Regions from separate parts of the Homo sapiens genome. Here region 2 is linked to region 1. Evidence: promoter capture Hi-C in human tissues and cell types (Jung and others, 2019). All regions are on one chromosome and are shown on one strand. Each heading gives the region's core, a stretch centred on a gene start or on the middle of the fragment in contact. The rest is flanking DNA. Distances are from core to core; before and after follow the strand shown.

What was found. Contacts are between HindIII fragments. The study calls those that stand out against the background at their distance.
Region 2: a fragment that was not itself captured here is called in contact with the fragment with the promoter of DCC in region 1 in 1 of the 25 tissues and cell types used here (stomach).

Annotation. Positions count from the first base shown.
Region 1 is chr18:52,337,901-52,342,031 of GRCh38, forward strand. It overlaps DCC (DCC netrin 1 receptor), which reads left to right and starts at 2,297. Exons shown (of 29, transcript NM_005215.4): 1 at 2,297-2,978. The coding sequence starts at 2,888. The HindIII fragment of the contact is 11,241 bases long and covers 1-4,131 here.
Region 2 is chr18:52,536,785-52,540,915 of GRCh38, forward strand. The region is part of intron 1 of DCC (DCC netrin 1 receptor); the gene reads left to right. Among named protein-coding and RNA genes, the nearest start is that of DCC, 200 kb to the left of the region's middle. The HindIII fragment of the contact is 6,333 bases long and covers 1-4,131 here.

The sequences.
Region 1 (4,131 bases), core at 1,047-3,546:
TACATTCTTTTGGGTGTATATCCAGTAACAAGATTGCTGGGTCAAATGGTATTTCTGCCTCTAAGTCTTTGAGGAATAACCACAATGTCTTCCACAATGTTCTCACTTATAAGTGGGAGCAAAATGATGAGAACACATGGACACATGGCGAGGGAACAAAACACACTGGGATCTCTCAGAGGGAGGGGCTGAGGGGAGGGAAAGCATTAGGAAGAATAGCTAATGGATGCTGAGCTTCATACCTAGGCGATGGGATGATCTGTGCAGCAAACCACCATGGCACACATTTAGCTCTGTAACAAACCTGCATATCCTGCACATGTACCATGAACTTAAAATAAATTTGAAGAAAAATCCAGATCTGAGCAACATGGACCATTTTTGGTTTCCTACCCTCCCTCCCACTTGTTGAAGACATCCTATTACTGATATGGGAAATACAGGACTTCATTAGTCTTGAGAAGAAGTTGCAACTCTTCCCTCATACCTACTATCTTATGCAATGGTTCTTTACATCATTTTGGCAGGGAGGCAGGCTTGAACTCACCTTATACATTTACTGAAAGCTAAAGATTCCCTTCCCAGTTAAACAGCATGTTCACACAAGCCAATCACTTTTCATAAAATTTCAGGATATTCACAAACTTCCTGAATTTTGTTGGTGGAGACTTCCTGGGAAGATTCATGGACTGAGTTAAGAACCCTTGCTGTAGAACCCAGTCCTGAACCACTAGAGGCTTCACCTCAGCTAATGGAAGTTTTGAGTGTTTCAAGAAATTTGGGGGTAACCAAAGAGTTTCATCCAATTCTAAAGAATCCATCCATGTAAGCTATTTCAGAAGGTTTTGCTTTAGTGAACACAGGCACTTCATATTTTAACTTTTCCAGGACAGGAAGGAATGGGCATGACTAGGGATCTAAAACACTGTTGTCCAGTTCCAGCATCATAGGAGTTTCCCTGATGATGATTTTATCCTGGATTTTTCATGCTTTCCCTCACGCCTTTCTTCTTAAATAGATGTTCACATTCTCTCTGCTCACAGCCTGGTGAGCATGGGAGGGTGACAAGAACAGGTGGGGAAGAATCTAGTAAGGAATGGTCTGAATCCACAGCTGAACATCTCCTTAAACGACAGAATTTTACCAGAATGACATTTCTATTCATTATCCTTCCCGGCCAAATTAATTGGTTTGTAAGTTCACTTATTCTGCAGAAACGTATTGGCATGTGCAGAATTCCAAGTTCTATGCTAGCATCTGTGAGGAGTGCAAAAATGGATGGCATACAACCTCTCTCTTCTCAAAGGAGCTTGAGTTCCCGCAGCAGAGACAAGTTATGCAAAGGAACTCAGCTTAAAACAGTTTCCTGAAAGGGCTTTACTGTTCACCCTTCCTAAGTTTCCTGCTGTGTGTGTGCTTGTGTGTGTGTGCACACACACGCGTGTGTATGGTTGCTTCACTTTATCTGCCAGGGACTGGAGAAATGTCTCTCTTGTTTTCCCAGAGCACCCCCTCCATTACGTGAACCATCATATTTATCACGATACTTTATAATTATCCATTTAGCTTCTCTCCTGACGGATCACAAACCCCTTGAGGATAGAGACTGAGTCTCACTGGATGTCCCAACTATTTCCTGGGAGCCAACAGAACACCTGGAACATGATAAGTGCTTTTAAATATGTTAAAGAAAACAATTGCGAGAGAAGAGAGAACACAGACGACATGAGACGTCCTACAAAAGGAGGCCCCTTAGCTATTATGTCAGGAAATAACTCTGGCCTTTGTCCTGTCCGCTGTGTGTTTCAGGATCTCGATTTCCCTCCCGTCCTAGAAGGGAGTTGGATCAGGTGATTCTTTCCAAATGAAAAATTGTATTTTAAATAATGCCAAGGGCAGAGAAGGAAGTAAACATCCTGGCCACCTCCTCCGCCTTAAACGCCCGCCTAGGTTTTACAGTCAAATACCAATAATTTCCTGAAGGCTGAGTGTCAAACACGGTCGCTGCAAAACCTCCAGACGCTCAGGATGTTCGCAGGCTCCATTGACAAAAGTGACTTCCCACGCTTTGCCCACAGAGGGCATCCCTGCGCATTGATACGCAGACCAGGCAAATGCAGCTCCTGGAAGCCTCCTCGGTCCGCTCTTTTTTCCCTAAGCCATAGTCTGTCTGCCCCCACCCCCTTCCCGTGGAATCTTTGCCTGATCCAGTTCGTTTCCCTCCGGTCTCCACATTTTCCCTTCCAGCCCTCCACTTCTCCGGATCAATGTGTAGTACGGTTCCAACTCCCAGCTCGCACACCGCTGGCGGACACCCCAGTAACAAGTGAGAGCGCTCCACCCCGCAGTCCCCCCCGCCTCTCCTCCCTGGGTCCCCTCGGCTCTCGGAAGAAAAACCAACAGCATCTCCAGCTCTCGCGCGGAATTGTCTCTTCAACTTTACCCAACCGACGACAAGGAACCAGCCTCAACCTTTTAATGCACAGCCCGGCCACAGGATTGCCTTCCATCTCCTCTTGGTCCCTCCTGGATGTGGTTTATTGATGACTTGCGAGCCCCTCAGAGAGCTGTCTTCCCTCCTCTGGCTCCCTCCGTTTCCTTGAGTTAGTTTTCTAAGGTTTTACCGGGGCTCGGGATCTCTTGGACCGAATGGAACTTTTTGCTGCCTGCTTTTGCTGCTGATTCTGTCAGTGGACAAGGAAAAAGGCTTCGAAGGCAGCAGAGGCGCAGGGGAGGTGGAGAAAGAGGTGGAGGAAGAGGACGAGGAGGAGGAGGAAGCCGAAGGGGCTCGGCGCGTGTGTGTGCATGTGTGCATGCGTGTGTGAGTGCATGTGTGTGAGTGCTGCCGCTGCCCGCGACCCCTGGCCCCGAAGGTGTTGGCTGAAATATGGAGAATAGTCTTAGATGTGTTTGGGTACCCAAGCTGGCTTTTGTACTCTTCGGAGCTTCCTTGTTCAGCGCGCATCTTCAAGTAACCGGTAAGTGGCTCTTTCCTTTCTTCTCGTCGCACCCCCTTCCGTACCCCACTTCCCTTCTCATTTCATTTGGCGAGTAGTAGAATTGGGGTGGGGGATAGCAAGAGATTTGGCGCTTGCGCTGCCCCCATTTGCGCACCGATGATAAAAGATAGAAGAGTTTTTTTCTTCCCTGGGGGCGGATGATGGTGGGGGGGTGGTACAAGGGGCGCCCCTTCGCTGTTTTAAAATCTGATGCTTCACGCATTTTTGCTTCTGCAAATACTTGGGTTGGTTTGGAGAGCCGGCGGGCTGGGGCAGGTGCTGGGGATATCGTTGAAAGGAACTGGGCTGGGTCCTTAAAGCCCCAGAAACCTACCAAGTGGGGAGGATTGGGGCAACAGGAGCAGGCGAGGAGGACATCCAGGGGCTTTGAGGAAGTCTGCGCAGAATGTAGATGGTGGGGCTGAGTCGTTGGTGTGTGAATACATCTCCTTTTGGTTTGGATTTTTGGACTTGGTGATTGAGAATAGGGAAAGGGACAGCTAATATGTTTTGGTACTTCCAAGGAGGGGATCCTGGTACTGAAGGAGGCACAGAGTTGCCAAGGAGGAGGGGAGGTGTGTTTAATATTGTTTTATTTTTTAACGGTGAATGTAGTTCGCAAGCTGAGTCTCCATATAGCTCCAGGACACCTCCAAACTCCAAGTGATTGATATTCCAGAGAACCGGCGCCCTGACCCTGGCACTTGCCTAGCTCAGTTTCTAATTAAAAATGGCAAAACTGTTTGGGGATTGGATCTGGCTAGTGCAGGAGAAAGAGGGACCTGGAGGCTGGCTGATCAGGACTGCTGTAATCTCCGAATACGGAGCTGGCGGCTTCGACGGCCAAAAGAATAGAAAAGAGCAAAATGACTCATGATAAGGTCCACTTGTTTTGCGGGACCTCACCGCAAGTGTAGATGGGCACTGGGGTACAGTGAGCGGTCCTGGCAAAGAAGGAGAGGAGAGCGGCTGGATGAGCATTCAGAGAGCCCTTCGGAAACGACCTTTTTCCAAATCCAAAGGAAAAACAGGCTCAGGCAGAGACCGGGCGTTGAGTAGGAGCTCCCCAGTTCGTGCCTGGGAAATTAACAGGGAATGGCACATCAATCGCGGCCAAGCCCCCAGCCTCCCC
Region 2 (4,131 bases), core at 502-3,001, 200 kb after region 1:
GATCCTTTCAATATTTTTATGCAAGAAGCTTAATTCCTAAGAAGACTCTGATAAATTTTTGCAGAGAAGTTTGGATCTTTTAAAATGATCTCTTTAAAGTTCTGTATTGTGGCCAATTATATTCTTTCTGAGAACCAGTTTAGTTATTATTTTCTTCATGGAAGGTTTAGACTCAGTGCAGTGCCTTTTTTATTTTAATCATCCTTAAAGAAATAGAAAATGTTAATAAGAGAGTGCAGGGAGCTAGTGCTGTTAAAGTGGCAGGCTATTGGATTTGATTATTTTTGTACCAGAGAGTTTAATTGTGAACTCTGATTTTTCTTCATCTGTTTGATGATGAAAGTTCTCTCTAGGTCCTTATCTTATCATGAGTAAAACATCTCACATCTAGAGGACAAACAGAAACTGAAAACAATAAGTTGCTGTGCTTTTGCTTCAGGAAATAAATAAATAAATGCAGTAATAAGTTAACAAATGGATAAAGTAATATTTAAAATCTCCTTTATGATATATTTAGACTTGGGCTGCAAAACATAAACAAGAAACTGTTGGGAAGAATTTTGAAATTATTAGCTTTCATAGGTTCTAAAATTAGGCTGTTGTGGGATGGGTTTTTGGAAATTAAGCTTTTTCAAAATGATGTTTTCCATTCAATGTTGGAAAGTAAACACAGCGCCTGTTGAGGCTGCTGCCTGGAGGCAAACACATAGTTAGCTGAAATCCTCCTGGATATAAATATCTCCTGGGATTTCTAACTTGGAGGCTTAAAATTACAGTCTAGGGGAGGCAGCTACAGTCCACAGCATGTACACATTTTTGGACCTCCTATAGCCAGCTTGTCTCACCAACTATTACAAGCAGAAAAAAAAGAAAACAATGACGACGAATGAAAGGAAATAACACAAAGAGAACAAAGATGCAGATTCCAAGAGAAAATGGCATATGGCTCTTCACTGTCTGTCAATGCAGAGTATTTAACGACCATTGAGAGATTGTAATTATGCCTCATGCCACTTGTCTAAAGCCAGCCAATGATGTCCCCATGTTTTATATCTCCCCCCATACCTTAAAGTCCTATTTTGCCTCTCTGATCAAGTACAGCTCTTTTCCATGATTACTAGAATTTTCTGTCTTCTGCCCTTCCCTGCAGGATTAATTTTTCTTGCCTATAATTCAAATGTTACACTTTTTGTTTAGGCTCTAGCTGTGGCTACCTAACAGAACTTCCTACCCTGGATTCCACCTGTGCATGAACCATCACAAAGAGGATCTTTCTAAAACATTCCATTCCAGCATGTAAACAACTGTTGGATTTGGCACCTCATCCATCCTCAGCTTGGCATCAGACCTCTACACCTGTATCCCAATCTTCCTCCGAAGTCTCCCAGTAGTCTTGCCTGCTTACCTCCAACTACCATCACACAACTTGGGGCTCTGAAATTTAATAGCTTTCTGCTGCCTTTCTGCCTTCTTCACAGTACTAAGTCAACCTCAACTTTCCAAAAAATTATTTCTATCCTTTTAAAATCCTACCTATTGTAACATTCTCTTCTCTCCTCCAACCCACTGCAATTTATTTTTACTTCTCTGAACATCATAATATATTACTGTTACAGTAAGACAATACACACACATAACCACACAAACGCTTTCACTAATATCTATAAACTCTTTCCTGATGTACCCTGTTCAAACTTTATTTCTTTCTTTTCTAGTCTGGCCACATTTTGTCTCTATTATTTAGTACATAATAAATCCTGCCTTATTATTTGGTAGGTTTTGTCTATCTCCTTCCATTCCTCCTTGCTCCAGACTGGATACAGTTCAGGATACCATGTGAATCTTCCTTATCTTCCTATCTCCAGTAGCCCTTTCACAGGGCCAGCCTTGCTATCCTAACACCTCTTCAGAGAGCTGTGTCCCTACTACAGTGTCCTGCTTTTCTTAATATAATTTTCTCTCTAGTGTTTTCTTACAAACATGTTTTTTTTTCTTTTAACCTTGATTGCAAATTCTTCTGCAGCAGAAGTTATCTGTTCTCCTTTTGTACTTTCCCACAGAGCTGTACAAAATATCAGCCACAAAGTAGAATTTGAATACAGTGTATGAAATGAATAAATAAATGAATGAGTGAATAATGTGTGGTGGATGACATGGCCTCGGTACTGAGGTTGGTTAGCTGGTCTGAGGCTGATAGACATGTGAGTAAAAATAATAAAATTAGCCTCTTGTTCTTTCCAGATGGAAAGGAGTCTGGTTGCAGTGATTACATGTTAATCAGCAATTTGGGTTTGGATGTTTGTTAGAACATGAACTGGCATTGGGATTTCATTGTCTCTGAGTCAATGTACATTTTGAGTTTCTTCTTCAATTCAAGATTTTGTGGGGCTTAATTTAAACTGTAGTTAACTTGGAACCATAGAGAGATATTTTAAGATTTAATGAATTTCTAGGTAAAGTTCTCAGAGTTACTGAATGAAATATCCTCTACCAAGATCTAAGAGGGAGTTCAAGGTAAATCCATGAAAAAAAAAATAAGCTTGATTCAAGATTTACAGGAGATCTATTGTTCCAGGAGTCCCCAAACCCCCAGGCCGTGGACTAGTATTGGTCCATGGCATGTTAAGAACTGAGCCACACAGCAGGAGGTGAGTGCAGGCCAGTGAGCATTACCACCTGAGCTCCGCCTCCTCTCAGATCAGTGGCAGCATTAGATTCTCATAGGAGTACAACCCCTATTGTGAACTGCACATGCAAGGGATCCAGGTTGAGTGCATCTTATGAGAATCTAATGCCTGATGAGCTGAAGTGGAACGGTTTCATCCTGAATCCATGCCCCCGGCCCATCCCATGGAAAAAATTGTCTTCCATGAAGCCAGTCTCTGGTACCAATTATATTTGGAACTGCTGTATTATACAACATAATGATGTAGTTAATAACAATGTATTCTGGAAAATTGCTTAGAGAGTAGACTTTGAGTATTCTCACCACAAAAACAGGATAACTATGCAAGATAATACATGTATTAGTTAGCTCAATTTAGCCATTCCACAAAACATGTTATACATGATAAATATGTATAAATTTTATTTGTCAATTAAAAATAAACAACAACAACAAAAAAACCCACAAAATTTAGGTATCACTAGGTAAAGATCAGTGGGAAATCCTGCTAATTCCAGTAGAATTGGAATTCTGAAAGCTGTATTCATGTTTTTCTGGTTGTGCCATGTGATGTTCAGTGGCATTATCTTGATACAGTAGAATGATTCCTAGATCATATCTCAATGTTGGGTTTTTTCATTTTCTTTAAATGTACACTCTAGGACATTAATATCTCTCTGGATATCAAAACTTTATCATTGCTTGGCCTGGAGCAGTGTCTTATGCCCATAATCCAAGCACCTTGGGAGGCTGAGGCCAGATAATTGCTTAAGGCCAGGAGTTAGAAACCATCCTGGGCAATATAGCAAGGCCTTGTCTCTAAAAAAAATTTTTTTAAATAATGATGTGCACCTGTAGTCATAGCTACTTGGGAGACTAAGGTGGGAGGGTCACTTGAGCCCAAGAGTTTGAGGCTACAGTGAGCTATGATGGCATCACTGTACTCTAGCCCCAGTGACAGAGCAAGACCCTGACTCAAAAAAAAACCATATTTTAAAAATTATTGTCCCTTTTTATTGACATTGCTTTGTCTTTTGTTTAAAAGTCATTCAATTTTAGTGGCATCAAAGCATTTGATATTCAGTATAGTTACTGTTATTTCTCGAAATAAATGTGTTATTCACTACCGTTAGGTGTATTCAACTGCCTTTTTTTTTTTTTTTTTTTTTTTTTTTGAGACTGAGTCTTGCTCTTTCGCCCAAGCCGGAGTGCAGTGGCGCTATCTCGGCTCACTGCAAGCTCCACCTCCCGGGTTCATGCCATTCTCCTGCCTCAGCCTCCTGTGTAGCTGGGACTACAGGCGCCCGCCACCACGCCCAGCTAATTTTTTGTATTTTTAGTAGAGACGGGGTTTCACTGTGTTAGTCAGGATGGTCTTGATCTCCTGACTTCGTGATCCGCCCGCCTCGGCCTCCCAAAGTGCTGGGATTGCAGGCATGAGCCACCGCGCCCGGCCTCAACTGCCT